Regions from separate parts of the Homo sapiens genome. Here all the other regions are linked to region 4. The links are contacts of gene promoters, found by promoter capture Hi-C in human tissues and cell types (Jung and others, 2019). All regions are on one chromosome and are shown on one strand. Each heading gives the region's core, a stretch centred on a gene start or on the middle of the fragment in contact. The rest is flanking DNA. Distances are from core to core; before and after follow the strand shown. Region 1 overlaps KCNJ6 (potassium inwardly rectifying channel subfamily J member 6). Region 2 overlaps KCNJ6 (potassium inwardly rectifying channel subfamily J member 6). Region 3 overlaps KCNJ6 (potassium inwardly rectifying channel subfamily J member 6). Region 4 holds the start of DSCR4 (Down syndrome critical region 4).

Region 1 (4,667 bases), core at 2,110-4,609, 430 kb after region 4:
CCTGCTTCTCTCCCGGCTTGTCCCAGATCCACACAGCCCACCTTGAGGGTTTGATTTCCTGGTTCTCCTCCAGGATTCTGTCTTATGGACTCATCCGCCGTGGTTCATTCCTGCATACTCCTTCATTCTGCAACTCAGCCAATCCCTGGGCCCCTCCTTGTGACAGAGAAATTTAAGACTCCCATCCTCCAAATGGTGATGTGAATCAAGAGATGGCAGAACTTACAGTCTTGCTTATGTGGGCATTGAACGAGACATTGCTTGGATGTTGCCTAAAACATCAGTTCTACCTTCAAGTGGCAAGAAAACATAGCACTTGGTACCATCTATCTCGAAAAATTAAGACATTTAAACAGGTCATCTGATGGATTTCCAAGTTGGATTCATGTTTTTAATTTCCTGCTGTCAAAATAGAGGGATGTTTCCCTCTACCCATTAACCATTTTTAATAAAAGCTTGAAAACATGATGGAACATACACAGGGTGCGGCAGTCACTAGTGACACTTTGTAGAAGCTCACTTACAGAATGAGTTTCTTTGTGGCTCTTGTCAACCCAAATAAAGATTTGCGTCAAAAACTGTCCCTTCTTGGTATCTATGTTAAGAGTAAAGCTTAGCATATCTAATGCTACCCTTTCGCTCTAAGTTTAATGAAATAACCATTTAGGTGAGGGGAGTGGCCTTAGAAATTTGGGCTAAATCAATGGTTCCTTGGCAGATCGCTGAGTAATTTGTGGTTATCAATGGAAACATTTTGTTTGTTAGAGAATGTCACATTGTCAATATTCTATGTCTCTTTGAAAGTGAATTTGAAGGGTTCTGCCATTTTCCTGATTCACTCCAAAGCCAGAACCTAAACTCTATTTCAGAGAGCAGGAAGGCCCCAACCATTGGGCCCCAACATCCTGGCAGAAGAGAATGTTGTCTCTCAGGCCAGCACATGTCTAATCAAGACACGGTTCCTATTGGCCCCCCACATTCCCGTCAGTTTCCAAATTGTTGCACTAAAATGGGGCTTGGGATAGAGGCAACATCCTTACAGCAGATCAGTGTGGGAGCTGGGACTGGCACTGCTGAGGAGAATATATTGATTCTTCTGTCTACTTTAAATCCACACACTTTAAGTACCATTCACACCCCTAATGCTGCTCCTTGGAAATTATTCTGAAGGAAAAAAAAAATGCATTGCCTTTTTTTCTCAAGGGTAAAGGGAGAGGCAGTTGAAACACAAATATTAAATGGGAATTTGTCTGCCACTCTACGTTTTTTGTTTTTTGGGATTTTTTGGTTTTTGTTTTTACTTTAAGTTCTGGGATACTTGTGCAGAACATGCAGCTTTGTTACATAGGTATACATGTGCCATGGTGGTTTGTTGCGCCCATCAACCTGTCATCTAGGTTTTAAGCCCCGCATGCATTAAGTATTTGTCCTAATGCAATCCATGGAAATGGACACACATATCAAATTCCACTGCCTCAAACCCCAAATGACTAAGTGCTGGAATGCCACGACATCCCAAACTGCTTGAAATAAATGGGCCATCAGCTGAGGTTAGAGAAACCTTTTTTTTAATTATACAGCAAAACGTCTCAAAAAATATGTTTGATCCAGAGTGGTGGATCATAGCAAAAGCACATTGAATGAATATGTTCATGTCCCTGTCACTATTTAACTTAGCGGGGCCTGCCTGCAGGGTCTAAGGAGTTCTAACGGCTGTGCTTTCCTGTGAGCACAGGTGCGCGGTTACTCACACAGATTCCACCCCTGCCGAGTGGCCTCCAACCATGTCTCACTATATCCCACTGTCATATCCAAAATCAGATTTTGGATTTGCCAAAAACTGAGCAAAGCTAGAACAGAGACCGTAATCACTGAGCAGTGGCTGAAGATGTTCCTGGAAACCATTCTAGCCAGAAGCCAAACTGTGAATCAGGAAGATACGGGACACCTCAGAGGAACTCCTTAGAAGTCGGTCTCAGCTGATGCTCCCATTCAATAGGTGTCAATAGTTCCCACCTTCCAACAAGAGCTGCCAGAGCTCTGAGCAGGCTGTGCCAAGCAGGCTGGGAGGGTGTCAAAATGCCCAGCACTTCACCCTCATTGAAGATAAATCATCAGAAAGTTAAGATTTGGGAGCATCACAGCCCCCAATAAGGGAGGGGAGGGAGATGTCTCTCACTTCCAGTCTAGTAAATGAAGACCCTGTGGGAATCCTTAGAGGTCCTGACAGAGGCCCCCCTACACCTGAGCCTAGGGGTGCCAGGAAATTGTTGTCCTAGCCATACCTGGCCATCTGCCCTTGCAGTGGCTTCAGGGGTTGGAAACCCTGCACTCTCAGCCCCACACAATTCAATTATCTGTCTCTGTCCTTATTCCTCAAAGGTGTGACCTAAGCTTGCTTAGCTTGGAATTGAAAAAGTAACCTGGGCCAGGTACGGTGGCTCATGCCTGTAATCCCAGCACTTTAGGAGGCTGAGGCAGGTGGATCACGAGGTTGGGAGTTCAAGACCAGCCTGGCCAAGATGGTGAAACCTTGGTCTCTTCTAAAAATACCAAACTTAGCCGGGTATGGTGGCAGATGCCTGCAATCCCAGCTACTCAGGAGACTGAGGAAGAGAATTGCTTGATCCCGGTAGGAAGCAGAGGTTGCAGTGAGCCAAGATCACGCCACTGCACTCCAGCCTGGGCAACAGAGCAAGACTCTATCTCAAAAAAAAAAAAAAAAGAAAAGAAAAAAGAAGTAACCTGAAGTATCACCCATTAATATGTTACTTTGATGTACGAATATTTATGTCCAATTTCTGTTTGGAAAAGGAGGGGCTTTGTGGAATTTTTAAAATTCACATTTGTGCCCTGGCTGTGGCCATAGATATTCACTGAGCCAGGTGTCATGGTTGGTAGCTGTGGCACCATGCCGAAATTTCAAGAAAATACTCTTAGGCCTTTGGAAAATTGAAAAATCCTGAGGTTTCCTAAGACTGTCACAGCTGAGACCTTTTATCCCAGCAATGCCCATTACAAATGCAAGCATGCAGCTCCACAGTAGACATTGGCTGGAGGTGAAAATCTACCCCACAGAGCACCCCATCATTTCAATGCAAACAGACAGTTTATTGCAAGTCTTATGGTAGGCAGTCCTTGAATGATTTTAATTAACTTTTTATGTATCATTGACAAGTCCTTGAAGCTTTATAAACTTCAATACAGATTCAAGGAGGAATCGTTATTGTCAGGTTCATGCTATAGAGTAGAAAGCCTTGAATGTAAAAATAATTACATGGAAAATGATAAACCTTTGAACATTGAGTAGTTCATAATGATGACATGAAGAAGCATAGTCACTGGTAATTTATCAAATATATAGATATTTTGAAATAATTATATCATATGTCAATCAAACAATTTCAATCAAACAATTTTAATTGCATAATCTTATACTGAGAAAGAAAGGATTTTTATAAGGATAATCTGTAGTTTATTGCAGAGGGATAAGAGTATTTCTATTTTTTGAAATAATTTATCTAAAATTAAATTCCCTACGAATGCAGGAGTGGGGGTCATTAATGGAGAATCTGTGAGTTGGTGTCTTGGCCATGTGAGACCCAACTTTTGACTCTGCCTGAGACCCAAGCCATCTAGTTGACAGGGAGACACTACTGCTTCCCTGATAGGAAGCAATGGTGTGGGTGAAAGTCCCAGCCCACCACGTCCCTTGCACTCATCTCCCAATACTTCATGTGTTAAGAGACTAACCCTTTTCTTTCACGGTGGGCCATGAGTTTCAACATAAACATAGCCCGGCATGACATGTCATTTGTCTGATACTCAGTGGTAATTGGTTTCTTCTCACCAATAGATTGTTAATTCTTGGCAGGAATGAATGGAGAGAGGAAGGAAGAGAGAGAAGATAGAAATTTACTGAGTGCCTAGTATGTATTAAGAATGAGGACTGTGGTTAGATAGATGGACAGATAAGTCATGCCGTGAATGTTCGACCTGAACTGTAACTCTCCTCTATTGGGAGGCTCTGATAACAAAGAGACAGGATGAGAACAGTGAGCCCCTTAAAAGGTCAGAGGAAAACAAGATGGAAACCACTGAAAGGGGGAAGTAAGAAGAAAAAGAAAATATACTTTGCTTATGAATTTGCTTCCAAGTGACACTTCTTTATCCATTCCATCAGACTTTTTAGTATGTATGGATTTTGAAGTGATTGCAGAGCAATTAGTCAAAATTTCATCTCACTAAGTATGGTGGAGGGTGGAGAGCACCATTTTCTTCATTACTAGGGCTCTGTCCACCAGAAAGTGACTGCTTTTGAAAAGCTGTAGACTCTGCAAGCTTTCCTGTAATGGGACTTCTCATTTCCTCCTGCACTTCAATAGATAGAGGAACAGAGAGAATAGAGATATATTATACATATACATACATCATTCAGATATCCATTGATTTATATCACCTTTGATTTATCACCAACGATATATGGTGATTTATATCACCAATGATATATGCACCTTTGGTGTATATCTACAATACATATATCTAAATGTATCTCTACTACAATAGAATTATATTCATGAAACATATTCAAACCTGTTCCATTTGACTGCCATCATCCCCTCTTTGGATGTGATACTTCAGCCAACACTTTCATCATGTCCTTGTGT
Region 2 (4,376 bases), core at 446-2,945, 380 kb after region 4:
TTCTAGTCGACAATGGGTTGAGTTTATCTAAAGACCTGGGATCAATAGAAAGGTAATGTCTAGGTTGCGATAAGAGATGTGGAGACCAAAGTTTTATCATGCAGCTGAAGCCTCCAGGTTGCAGGCTTCAGAGAGAGTAGATTGTAACCGATTCTTATCAGACTTCGGGTCTGTGTTGATGTTAATGCCAGAGAGGTATAATAAGGCGTGTCCAATCCCCACTTACCATAATGGCCTGAACCAGTCTCTCAGGTTAAATTTTAGGAGAGCCCTGGCCAAGGAAGAAGTCCACTCAGATGGTTGGGGGGCGTTCAAATTTTGTTTTTGGTTTACAAGAGCTACTGGTTTGTAGTAGTGCTGGGCACAGCATTTGCACTTCCTTGGGCACACGTTTTAAAATAGTCCCAGTGAGCTTCCTCCACAAGCCACACTGGAGTCATGGGCTTAGCAGGAAAGAACAGGGAGACTGGCAATGTTGCCACAGGTGCTTCAAAGCTGGGACCATGATTCATTTCTTCAGCCCTGGATAACAACACCTGATCTTTTTTTTTTTCAAACCTAAAGAATTGTTCATGAACCAAAATTTTTAAATAAATAAATAAAATGAATATTTACCCAAGCCAATGGTACACTGCCCTCTCCCAGTTCACTTTTCCCATTTGTAAATGCCCGTTTTTCCAGGAGCTTTTCTCCCTCTCTCCCTCCTCACCCCATCATGCATGGCATCAACATAAGATACTGTCAATGTCAAGCTTCTCCAATCAGGCACAAATTGGGTTATTAGTGGTGTGCAGAAAGCTGACACGAGCTTGCATAGCACTCAAAAAAATGAAAAACAATTGAACCAGCGGGCTAAAGTAGCCACAGCTCCCAAACTAGGAGGGAACATATTTACACACGTTTATCAGCAATTCCCCAACCATTTTTTGATTAGTTGTGTTCAATACCCCTTATTATATCACATTATGAACTCTTATTAATTTTTTCCCAATTACAGAGCCCTCAGCTCCTTCCACATCAAAAGGTTAAACCCCCCTAATAAGCAGCCCTTTTCTTCTGACTTAAGCCAACCAAGGGACTGCCTTTTGCATCAATTTTATTCCCAACATGCTAAGAGCTGGCGTTCCTCAGTACTGGATGTTCTGTAACAGCCCTGCCCAGTGGAAATATAATGCCAGCCACCTGCATAATCTTAAATTCTATAATATGAACCTTTGAAAGGAAAAAAGAAATAGGTGAAATTAAAATAATGATATATTTTATTTCACCCACTATATCCAGATATTAAAAGCTCAACATGTAATTGGTATGACAATTATTAATGGGATAGTTTACTTTTACATTATTACTCTTCAAAAATCCCCTGTGTGTTTAACACTTACTGCACATCTCTATTCAGACCAGGCAAATTTCAGGCTGGTAGCTGCTGTATTGGCCAGCACAGGTCTGCAAGAGACAAGCAGCTTTCTCTCTTCTCCTCTGGTGACTGACACAGGATTCTCTCTGCCGAAGTTACTCATTTTTTCCAGATAACCTTACCCTTCAGCCCATCCAAAGAGGAATTTGCAGATTAAAGAGGATGTTTTTGTTTGTATGTATCAAAAAGTTATTAGGGAGTATTGGTGCTAGAAGGAGAATTATCCAGCACTTAATCCATCTTACTGTGTTTTCAACAGCATTATCCAAGTCAATGCAGGGCCCATTAAAAACAAACACACAAACCAAATCTCTTCTGGTCCAGCTGAGAATATGTTTAAAGAACATTTCTTGGGGCTCAGGGAAAGGGGTATAAATAGAAATGTTAGCACTAAGACTGGGAGCACCAGCATCTTTGAATTTATGATATGAGCCAAAAGTTTGCAAAACTGGGTAAAACATGACTTCTCAAGGACACATCATTCGCAAATGTTGAGTTCTGCAGGCAAGGCAAAGTCGAGACAAGAGTGCAGATTTCTACTTTTCCCTAAAAAAGAGCAGATGTGATTACTTTAGTGTATGTACTTGCGTTGAGAATTCAGTCAAGTAACTTTAAAGAAATCAAATAAACCTTTGCTGGAGAAGGCAAGAATAATTCAGGGGAGGCACAGCAAAGCACACAGGCTTTGCCAATGGGCCCCAGGGGGGAGAAGCATGGAAGCAGGAGAAAATGTAATTTTAAAAGGACTATATCCCAAGTGCATGAAACCCAAACAGCATTGCAGTAGACAAGCCACAGGGCAGGGAAGTACAGGCCGTTTGTAATCTATGAGCTATTAATAAGTCATCCCCAGGAGACACAGAACACCAAATGGGGAACCATAGTTGGCCCCCAGGGCTGCCTGTCTCCATGGCCCATGCTGGCTGTCTGTGTGAGCCGAGACTCAAAAGTGCTCAAAATCTCACTGTTAAAAAAGAGTGTGAGCATTAAACAAATACAGCCCTGGAAAGTATGAGAAACCACTGTCCTGAAACCCATCATTCCACCTTGGCTTCCTGGAGAGCTGGCCAGGTGCAGAGCATGGTTTGACCCCAGGGAGAAGCCCAGAGTTTTCATGCTGTCTACCAAAAAGGCATCTCAATGGCAAATCCTTCTATCTCCTTCCAAGTTCATTCACTGTGGCCTTAAAATATACTCTACAAACATAGAACCAGAATGTCTTTGGGTTCCTAGACGGGGCCACTGCAGGGTTATACAAGATCATCGGGCAGGAATCTGCCCCCTTCTGTGCAGCAACTGTCCCAAACCAGAGTACATGGCTTGGTGAGCAGAGAATCAGCAGGGAGACTTTGTGACTCAGACTCTGTCCCCAGAAACCCTGTCCCCAGACACCACTCAGGCCTCACCCTAAATAGACTATGACTGGGCAGAAGGGAATCAAGTCCTCTTTCCGGATATTTTCCTTCCAGGATGGAAGACTTGACTGCAGATCAATTATGATCAGAGCTGCCTAAAGATATCGCAAGGTTATTGCTAGGAAAACTTTTCCTTTTAGCAAGATGATCCTGGAAAAATAAACAAACAAACGCCAACAGAGAAATCGCCCTCTTGACTTTCGTTCTGCTTCACTTTACAAATGCAGCTAATTTTGCAAGAGAAACACTGCCACCCAAGCTGAGAGAAAAAGGAAAATGCAAATATTTCCACTGTCTGATGAAAATCCACCAAGTAGTTCAGGTTAAAGTAGGAATCACCTCAAGGAATAAATGACTGATAAGCACAAATCCAGTTTACTTCTGGCCACTCTGACCCCTAATGAGACGTACTCCTGTAGCACATATACCCAGAGAGAGGCAATATGAAACAGGTCTTCTCTTGCCATCGGGCACTGATGCACAGTGAGGACCTCAGAGAAAAAACAAGCTGTGCTGTGTAAAGAAGCTCTGCAGATCCCCCCGTAACATATCAGTACAACACAGGAAAAGAACATCACACAATAAAAGAGAAAGTCCAATCTCACAAAAGGAAAAGCATCGTGCCCCCAACGTAATTTGTTAGGAAACTCATGTCAGGAGAAAAATCACATTGTCCCCCAGTCAACTGCAACAGCCCAGCGCAGCAACTCGTGTCTAAGTTGCATAAAAGTATTATTAAGGACGGTGCCTCCAGGAGGGTGACCGTGAAATGCTGAAGTCAGTTGGAGCTCATAGGCATTCATCACAGTCACCAGGTATTAATGGCTTGCCAGATGTTCCAACCTGGCCTCAAGCATGGTTGTCAGCGCTGCAGGCTGCAGAGGTGAACAGTACCTTAACAGGGCTGGGATGTAGGCTGCCCAGGCTCATGGAGGAGTCCCCTGCATTGTGCCTCCCTCTCTCCATCTCCCCATCGGGACACTGGCCCTGGATGGACATGCCACCATGCTTTATCTCTCAGATGTCTACCCTGCACACCCCTGGTTCTCAGGCTTAGGCAGATGAAGACACATGACCTTCCAGAGGTGTTGGACTTCTAGAGTTTTACCATCAAAAGCAACTTCTCTTTTCTCAGGTGAAATTAACCATTTACAAGAGTGCATTTCAGAGGCATTTAGTACATTGATGATGTTGTGCAGCCAACAACTCCATCATGTTCCAAAACATTCTCATTACCCCAAAAGGAAAGCCCATGCTCATAAAGCAGTGACTCCCAACTCCAAAACAGTGTTTAAGAGGATGTCTTATTTCATTCCAAAAAAATGTCTCCTACCCCACCCCACCCTCACCCCCAGACTCAGACCAGTTTTAAGCCACAAAAGAACCCTGAGTTCCCCTGGCAGGGATTTGTGTTTTATTGGTCTTTGCATCCCCAGGGCCTAGCACAGGGCTCGGTACACAGGAGGTGCCTGGTAGAAGTTATGGGACCAAAATGGCAGAGATGGGGCTCCAAGCCTGTGCTTGAGCCATCAGGTATGTACGTT
Region 3 (4,620 bases), core at 126-2,625, 450 kb after region 4:
AGCTATGTATCAGGAAATGGGATAAAGGCCAAATATATATTTCACAATATCACAATACACTAGCAATGGACAATTCAAAAAGGAAATTAAGAAAACAGGCCCATTGACAATAGCATCCAAAAAATGAAATAAAATACCTAAGTTCAAACCAAGGAAGTGAAAACTCATATACTGAAAATCATAAGGTCCTGCTGAAAGAAATGAAAGAATATCTAAATAAATGGAATAACATCCTGTGCTTATAGGTTGGAGGGCTTAATATTATTTTTGCTTTGTTTTGTTTTGTCTTTTTGAGACAGGGTCTTATTCTGTCACCCAGGCTGGAGTGCAGTGGCACGATCTTGGGTGACTGCAGCCTCTGCCTCCCAGGCTCAAGTAATTCTCCCACCTCAGCCCTCCAAGTAGCTGGGACTACAAGCATGCACCACCATGCCCAGCTAACTTTTGTATTTTTAGGAGAGACATGGTTTCACCACGTTGCCCCGGCTGGTTTCAAACTCCTGAGCTCAAGTTATCTGCACACCTCAGCCTCCCAAAGTGCTGAGATTACAGGTGTGAGCCACTGCACTCAGCCCAGGCTTAATATTATTAAGATGGCAGTACTACCCAAAGTGATCTGCAGATTTAATGTTATCCCTGCCAAAATTCCAATGGCCATTTTGCAGAACTAAAAAGCCCAATCCTCAAGTTCATATGGAAATGCAAGGGTCCCCAAATGGCCAAAACAATGCTGAAAAAGAACAAAATTAGAAGATTCACACTTCCTCATTTCAAAACTTACTATAAAACTATAGTAATTAAAGCAGTGACTGAATATAAGGCATAAGGATGGACATCTAAACCAGTGGAATAGAATTTAGAGTCCAGAAATAAACCTGCACACCTTAGAATAATTGACTTTCATGAGGACACTAAGATCATTTAATGGGAAAGAATCCTCTTTTCAACAAATGGTGCTGGGACAACTAGATATATACATGCAAAAGAATTAGTTGAAACTCTACCTCATACATTTGCAAAAATAAACTCAAAATGCATCAAGACCTAAATAGAGGAGCAAAAGCTGTAAGACTCTTTAGAAGAAAACACAGGGGTAAATCTTCATGACTTCGGATTCATCAATGGATTCTTAGCTGTGACACCACAAGTACAGGCAACAAAAGAAAAATATAAATATAACTTCATCAAAATAAAAAACTTGTATGCATTGAAATACATTATCATGAAAGTGAAAGACAACATACAGAATGGGAGAAAATATTTTCAAATTATTTTCAAATATTTTGAATATCCATCTTAACCATGTTATTCCAGCTACAATTCTGTGAAGACATTTCAGAGTCTCTGCATATTTCCTTATTGTAAGCTCCAAACAGTAGATTCAGCATCATGAAAATGTCCAAAGCATTGTTGTTTTTATCCCTGCATTATAGCAGAGATGCATATGCACATTCACACACACACACACACACACACACAACACACACAGACTTCATGCTCCCCAACACCACCTACCATCTCCCTAAAGATACAAAGAACTGATTGGCATCAAGCAGAGATTTCTTTGAGGCTTCCCTGTTTTGTTTTCATTGAGCTTTGAATTTGTAGTATGTCAGCAAAAAAAGGCAAACTCTGTAAACTACTTAAAGAGGTTTATTCTGAGCCAAATATGAATGACCAGGGCCCAAAGCACAGTCTCAAGAAGTCCGGAGAACATGTGCCCAAGGTGACTGGGTTACGGCTTGGTCATATACGTTTTAGGGAGACATAAGACCTCAATCAATACATGTGAGGTATAAATTGTTTAGTTCTGGAAAGGCAGGACAACTGGAAGGTGGGGGGGTGCCTTACAGGTCATAGGTGGATTCAAAGATTTTCTGATTGGCAATTGGTTGAAGAGTTAAGTTATTATCTAAAGACCTAGAATCAATAGAAAGGAGTGTTTGGGTTAAGATAAGGGGTTGTGGAGACCAGGGTTCTTGTTATGTAGATGAAGTCTCATAGGTAGCTGCCCTTTGAGACAATAGATGGCAATGTTTCCTATTTAGATCTTTTAAAGGTGCTAATCTCTTCTGGATTGGGAGGGCCTGGAAGGGGAAATACCTAGTTATATTATTAGAGATTCCTTACAGATGCAAATTTTGCATCACGAAAGCCAGCTTTGCAGCACCATTTCAAAGTATAGCAAAGAAACCTATTTTGGGATAAAATATTTTGATATCCTCCTTTACCTGTCATGTGATGTTATACTAGAGTCAGTATATAATTTGCAAAAAGGATCCTTCTCCTTCCTCAGCAGAATTGGAGTGCCCCAAAGTTCAGATGAGTAAGAAAGTGGAGAAGCTCAGAGGCCGTGCAGGCCAGCTTCCTCCAACCAGCACGGGTGCGGCATCCACACCCAGGCTCAGACAGGAAGACACAGGCCTCCGGATGCTGCTGTGGGCCGAGGTGTATCTCCCAATCTGCCTATGTTGAAGTCCTAACCCCCCATACCTCAGCATGTGGCTGTATTTGGAGGTAGGGCCTTTAAAGAAGTGATTAAGGTAAACGAGGCCATTAGGGTGGGCCCTCATCCAACCTAACTGGTGTCCTTATAAGAATAGGAGATTAGGACACAGACACAGACACACACAGAGGGGTGACCCTGTGAGGACCCAGGGAGGAGAGGGCATCTGTAAGCCAAGGAGAGAGAACTGTGTTATTTAAGGCGCCATCTGTGGTTTCCCTTGAGGCAGTTCTGGGGAGCTCCTACAGGCTCCCATTACCCCTGGGGCACTAGCACTCCTCCAACTCCTCACGTGGGGCTGAACATGGGTCTGAAGGCCTCTATGGGTTTTGGAGAGGGCTCTGAGGCAGAAGACCAGAGAAGCCCCCATCAAGCACTGGAGGGGGTATGCTTTCAGCATGCACAGAACTGCCCCACACACCCGAGCTGAGGCCCTGGGGCTGTGGGCTCCGTCCCCAAGGGAGCCAGGCACCAGTGGTTCTCAGCTGCGCCCACTGATCAGACCATGGCGTGAGCTTTCAGCAAATGTCCACTGCATCCAATGACATCAGAATTGTGGAGTAAAGCCCAGGCCCCTGCGCTTTTAAGAAGCTCCAAGGAGCTCTGGCATGCCTCCTGGAGGAGGACACCACTCCAGGAGTGGCACTTGCTTCTCTGTGCCCAGAGTCGAGGTAGGCTCTGGCCCAACTGCACGAGATGGACCTAGGACAGTGGTTCTCAGTCAAGGGCAAGTTTTGTCCCCCGGGAGACAGAGGGCAATATATGGAGGCATTTTGGATGTCACAATGGGGTGAGAGGACTCTGCTACTGGCACCCTGTGATCAGAGGCAGAGAATGCTGCTAAACACCCTGCAGTGCCGACCCCGGAGCCCGCTACCCCGGACCTGCTACCCGGCGCCTGCTACCCTGGACCTGCTACCCCGGTGCCTGCTACCCCAGACCCCGCTACCCTGGCTCCTGCTACCCCAGCACCCACTACCCTGGAGCCTGCTACCCCGGCGCCCGCTACCCCGGACCCCGCTACCCCGGCGCCCACTACCCCAGCGTCCTCTACCCCAGCTCCCGCTACCCCGGCGCCTACTACCCCTGATGTCCTATTGAGTCATTCCAAGTCCTGGAATTATTTGGACTGACCCTAGGCTTAGCTGAATCCCCCTGGTCCAGACAGGATGGGCTTGTTACAAGAGGTCCTATGTGATGAGGGAAAGGTGTTGCTAAACGCCCCCCACAGTAGAGAATTCTCCAATTCAAAATGTGGAACCCTGGCCTGGATATATGAAGAGGGAACAAAAGGAACTCACACTCATCGGCCCTTGTTACATATCCAGTTTGGGTCTGGACACTTTGCCTGCGTTGCCTCATTTAATTTTTTTTTTTTTTTTTTTTTTTTTTTTTTAGTATTTATTGCTCATTCTTGGGTGTTTCTCGGAGAGGGGGATGTGGCAGGGTCATAGGATAATAGTGGAGAGAAGGTCAGCAGATAAACAGGTGAACAAAGGTCTCCGGTTTTCCTAGCCAGTGGTCCCTGCGGCCTTCCACAGTGTTTGTGTCCCTGGGTACTTGAGATTAGGGAGTGGTGATGACTCTTAACGAGTATGCTGCCTTCAAGCATCTGTTTAACAAAGCACATCTTGCACCGCCCTTAATCCATTTAACCCTGAGTTGACACAGCACATGTTTCAGAGAGCACGGGGTTGGGGGTAAGGTTATAGATTAACAGCATCCCAAGGCAGAAGAATTTTTCTTAGTACAGAACAAAATGGAGTCTCCTATGTCTACTTCTTTCTACACAGACACAGTAACAATCTGATCTCTCTTTCTTTTCCCCACATTTCCCCTTTCTTTTCGACAAAACTGCCATCGTCATCATGGCCCGTTCTCGATGGTCACTGTCTCTTCAGAGCTGTTGGGTACACCTGCAGAAAGGCTGTCACTTTACACTTGGAAGATTGCACAGTGGCCAGGCAGAGGCACTCCTCACTTCCCAGACGGGGTGGCGGCCGGGTACCTCATTTAATTTTTAAAGGGAAAACAATGAACGATGTACTAGCATTGTATCCCCATTTTACAGATTGGGAAATTGCATCTCAGAGAGGCAAGGTGACTTGCTGAGA
Region 4 (4,598 bases), core at 485-2,984:
GATCTTCTGCCCTCTGTGCTTCTGGTTCTCAGGCCTTTAGACCTGGGCTGCAATCTATACCATCGGCCCTCCAGCTCTTAGGCCTTTGACTTTCATCAGCTTTCCTGGGTCTCCAGCTTGCAGAGAGCAGATCATGGGGCTTCTCAGCCTCCACAATCACATGAACCAGTACCTGATAATAAATTGGTTCTGGTTTTTCCAGAGAACCCTGATTAATATACTATCTGTGCATTCACTTAGGAGAAACAAAGTCATTAAATGTGAAAAAAAAAAAAGAACTGAGTCACTCAGAAGAATCATACTATAGTTGCCCATCATATATTATAAAGAACAAAGTATTCTAAATTATTTACGAATAAGAATTCTATAAAGAAAATGACTGATTATCTGCGCTTACACAAAATATTTCATGGAAATTTTATTACCGTGCTCTTTTTTTTTTTTAATTTAACCATCATTATGTTGTGCATTCATCATCTGGAGTTTTTAGTTGTTTAGAATTCCCTGTTGGCAGCCAAATTCCTGTCTGGGAAAATGTATGAGCCAGCCTTCATTTTCCACGATGACTTTCCAAGGAACCATTACAATTAAGAGAATGTAAGTTACTCATCTCCAATAACTGTACATGAAGCAATATTCCGAGGATTTGTTAACTGTCTTTGACAGGAGATCATCTACTCACAGTAGGTGCTTAACAAATGCCATCTTGAATGAATGAAGACCCTTTCTCACAGTAACAAAGTTGGGTCCAGGCTCCTTCATTTTTGCTCAGCAAGATGAAGCTAAGGAAACAGGAAATAAGTCATCAACCAAATCATAGTAACAAATCGTTCTATTCCATTCTCCATAATTCACCCTTCAGTCCAGGGGAACACTAACAATTGCCCCTCCAGATACAAAGAAATTGCCTCCTCTGAAGACAGCTGCCTCACCTAAGGCCACATTTCCTTCCAGGTTGCCCCACTTCCAATGAGTCACTGATTGGCAATCCATAAAGGTCAGCTCTCTTGCCTCAACTCAGCATACCTCTGACAGATCGTCCCATCTTCCCGTCTCCCTTGAGGTTTGACTGGGGTTGCTGCTGACCCAGTGATATAGGAGTTAAGAAGAAAGTACTTAGGCAGATAGTGAAGGTATGGGAGTCCTCAGTAAGGTCTTCCTTTTAATGAAAAGCAGCCCCCAAATCATTTTCTTTTCTAACAAAAAGCAACCTGGAAAATCGAGCTGCAGACACAGACAAGCAAGCTGAAAGCTTGCACAGGCAAATACCGGCAGTTGTGCCAATAAAAATATACTACCTGGGGCCGGCGCTGTGGCTCACGCCTGTAATCCCAGCTACTCAGGAGGCTGAGGCAGGAGAATCGCCTGAACTTAGGAGGCGGAGGCTGTGGTGAGCCAAGATGGCGCCATTGCACTCCAGCCTGGGCAACAAGAGCGAAACTCCGACTCAAAAAGCGACAACAGCAGCAACAACAACAACAAAAAACACTACCTGGGATTAGGCATGTTCTAAATGGCAGCTCCATCTTCTCTTTTTGCCACCCATGTTTACAGAAACGAGTGGACAAGACGGCCCCTGCCAAGTGGGAAGCCTATTTGCATAACAAGATTAGGGTGGGGTGACCAGCCTTCCCTGCGCGCTACGTAAACGTCACCCCTGGTCGAACCAATCTCTGGGCTCCACGTAAATCAGACACCGCCTCCTCAAGCCTGCCCGTAAAACCTGCTGCCGTCAGTCACGGGCCAGCCTTTCCCTTAAGGATGTCTGAGAGCTGGTCTCCTCACTCTTTTCTTCCGCCTATTAAACTTTCCGCTTCTTAACTCACCCATGTGTGTCCATGTCGTTAATCATCTTGACGAGAGATGATGAACCCCGGATATTTACCCCAGACAGTGATGCCGCTTCACCAGCATTGCACTCTACTTCCCCGCTTCCTGATCCTGCCTCAGCTTCTCCTCTCCACAGGTATTGATCCCAAGAACAACCCGTAAGAAATGTCCTGCACGCTAATCTCCATCTCAGAGTCAGCTTCCCAGGGAATCCAGCAATTACGAAGCATTCAGCTTAATTTTGTTGATTGCTTTATGATTTTGTGTGTGTGTGTGTGTTTTAATGTTGAAATGTAACATATATTCAAAAGTGTGGATAAAGTCTCCATGACGATTAGTTTCCTGTGTCATCATGGGGGCCAGGCTTTAGTGCCTTTTTTTTTTTTTTTTTTTTTTTTTTTTTGTGGTGAGACAGAGTTTTGCTCTTGTCACCCAGACTGGAATGCAGTGGCGCGATCTCGGTTCACTACAACCTCCTGGGTTCAAGTGATTCTCCTGCTTCAGCCTCCCAAGTAGCTGGGATTACAGGTGCCCGCCACCAAGCCAGGCTAATTTTTGTATTTTTAGTACGGATGGGGTTTCACCATGTTGGCCAGGCTGGTCTTGAACTCCTGACCTCAAGTGATCTTCCTGCCTCGGCCTCCCAAAGTGCTGGGATTACAGGCGTGAGCCACTGCACCCGGCCTTTACTGCCCATTTATTTAATCAAACACTAATCTAGGTAGTGCTGCAAAGGTATTTTGTAGATGTAGTTAACATCTACAATCAGTTGGCTTTACATAAATCTTACTTTTCATACTGTGAATGGGCCTTATACAATCAGAAGCCTTAAGAGCAAAAACTGAATTTTCCTAGAGAAGAAAAAATTCTGCCTAAAGTCTGCAACATCGTTTCCTGCCTGAGTTTCAGCCTGCCAGCTTCTCCTACGGATTCTGGACTTGCCAGCCCCACAATCATGTAAGCCAATATGCTAAAATAAATTTCTTAATATAATTCTTAATGTATATATCCTTTTGATTCTGTTTTTCTGGAGAAATCTGGCTTATACAGGCTCTTAACATGATTGTTTATCTGTCAATTTTTATTTTATGGCTATGTTATTAGGTATAAACAAATTTACGATTATTTCATATTAAACCTGAAACGTTGATTATTCTGAAACGAGCCAGTCTTTGCTTTGGTTTTGTAACTTTTGCTTTGCATAGTAGTTTTACCATCCCTTACTTACTTTCAACCTGTCGATATCTTTATATTTAAAGTAAGCAGCTTGTTTAGCTTTGCTTGATATTATTACCTTCTCTGATGAGCTTTATATTTCAATTTCAATATTTAGTCTGTTTATATTTACTGTAATTCAAGGTTAAATCTACCATCTTACCATTGATTCCTATTTTCTCTGTTCTATGATTTTTTTTGTCCTTCCTTAAAGTTTTTGGGCTTATTTAAATTTTTCTAATTACATTTCTTCTTCTATTAGCTTGTTATTTATATGTTTTTTTAAAAAATTGGTGTTTTCTCTAATTGGTGCAACATGCATTCTTGACTTACTAAAGTGCTATCGGTGTGTGTTTTAAAGGCGCTACTGTAAATGTGTATACAAGTAATTTTTATCTAGATTTACCACATAGACATTCTTATGACTGCTCTTTGTTACTTCCTGAATTTCCATGCTTTGCTCTACTACATGTTATTTACCATAATAAATGCATAACATTTATTACCTATAGCTCTAAAGGCAAACAGGCAGTGCGGTTCCAGTTTTATAGATAAGGAAACCAAAGCTCAGGGAAATATAGTGAGAAAGAGTATAGCTTGATAGCTAAAAGCATAAACTCTGGAATCCAATTGAATATTCCGCTTACTGGCCGGGCAGGGTGGCTCACACCTGTAATCTCAGCACTTTGGGAGGCCGAGGCGGGCGGATCACGAGGTCAGGAAATCCAGATCATCCTGGCTAACACGGTGAAATCCCATCTCTACTAAAAATACAAAAAATTAGCCGGGAGTGGTGGCAGGTGCCTGTAGTTCCAGCTACTGGGGAGGCTGAGGCAGGAGAATGGCGTGAACCCGGGAGGCAGATCTTGCAGTGAGCCGAGATCGGGCCACTGCACCCCAGCCTGGGCAACAGAGCGAGACACCGTCTCAAAAAAAAAAACAAAAAAGAATATTCCGCTTACTGATCTTATCATTTTGAGAAAGTTATTTCATGCTGTAAGCTTCTCTTTATCTATAAAATATCAAATAATAAGAATAAGAACAACACTTACCTCATTCTGGTTGTGAGGGTGAATTAAGAAACGTTGAATGTTTCATGAGACGTCTGGCGCATTGTAAGAACAAGCCACAAGTTCATGTTGGTTATGATGATACCCAGCAGTGCCGTAATACGCACGTCATCCACTGTTGCTGCCCAGCCCACTGTGCTCCTCTAAGGGAAACGCTGCCTTCTAAAGCATGTTGAAGGAGGGAGAAATAAGCAATCATTGAGAAAGTGGTGGCACCACTTTGGCCAGGGATGAGATCTGACCCAAGGGCAGCCAGAATATCAGGCAGCCTGTGTCCTTCAAAGTGGCCTGGCTTCTACAACAAATCTCTGCTCTAAAGGGATTATGGTGACTATCTAAGACCATCAACTCTCTCCCATTAGCATCTGAACAGAGAAAGACTGGAAGAATGGGCTGGTTGGTAGCTATGGGAGAAATATCAGAACATATAAAGGGAAAGGGAACAGTACCCTGAGAGCAGTGGCTGGAACACAGCTGGCACTG

The links. The method cuts DNA at HindIII sites, captures the fragments that hold promoters and counts their contacts. A contact is called where the count stands out against the background at its distance.
Region 1: a fragment that was not itself captured here is called in contact with the fragment with the promoter of DSCR4 in region 4 in 7 of the 25 tissues and cell types used here (IMR-90 fibroblasts, aorta, dorsolateral prefrontal cortex and 4 more).
Region 2: a fragment that was not itself captured here is called in contact with the fragment with the promoter of DSCR4 in region 4 in 1 of the 25 tissues and cell types used here (lymphoblastoid cells).
Region 3: a contact is called between a fragment that was not itself captured here and the fragment with the promoter of DSCR4 in region 4, in 2 of the 25 tissues and cell types used here (dorsolateral prefrontal cortex and mesenchymal stem cells).

Annotation. Positions count from the first base shown.
Region 1 is chr21:37,688,840-37,693,506 of GRCh38, reverse strand. All of the region lies in intron 3 of KCNJ6 (potassium inwardly rectifying channel subfamily J member 6), which reads left to right. The region is part of intron 1 of KCNJ6-AS1 (KCNJ6 antisense RNA 1); the gene reads right to left. Among named protein-coding and RNA genes, the nearest start is that of KCNJ6-AS1, 170 kb to the right of the region's middle. The HindIII fragment of the contact is 3,712 bases long and covers 1,504-4,667 here.
Region 2 is chr21:37,736,091-37,740,466 of GRCh38, reverse strand. The region is part of intron 2 of KCNJ6 (potassium inwardly rectifying channel subfamily J member 6); the gene reads left to right. KCNJ6-AS1 (KCNJ6 antisense RNA 1) reads right to left here. Exons shown (of 8, transcript NR_183540.1): 8 at 1-1,963. Among named protein-coding and RNA genes, the nearest start is that of KCNJ6, 180 kb to the left of the region's middle. The HindIII fragment of the contact is 4,180 bases long and covers 1-3,785 here.
Region 3 is chr21:37,666,437-37,671,056 of GRCh38, reverse strand. All of the region lies in intron 3 of KCNJ6 (potassium inwardly rectifying channel subfamily J member 6), which reads left to right. All of the region lies in intron 1 of KCNJ6-AS1 (KCNJ6 antisense RNA 1), which reads right to left. Among named protein-coding and RNA genes, the nearest start is that of KCNJ6-AS1, 150 kb to the right of the region's middle. RefSeq lists enhancers at 2,192-2,915, 2,916-3,638. The HindIII fragment of the contact is 4,201 bases long and covers 1-3,475 here.
Region 4 is chr21:38,118,496-38,123,093 of GRCh38, reverse strand. It overlaps DSCR4 (Down syndrome critical region 4), which reads left to right and starts at 1,734. Exons shown (of 3, transcript NR_147130.1): 1 at 1,734-1,966; 2 at 2,686-2,787. DSCR8 (Down syndrome critical region 8) reads right to left here and starts at 1,643. Exons shown (of 3, transcript NR_026842.1): 1 at 1,493-1,643; 2 at 683-782. The HindIII fragment of the contact is 7,375 bases long and covers 151-4,598 here.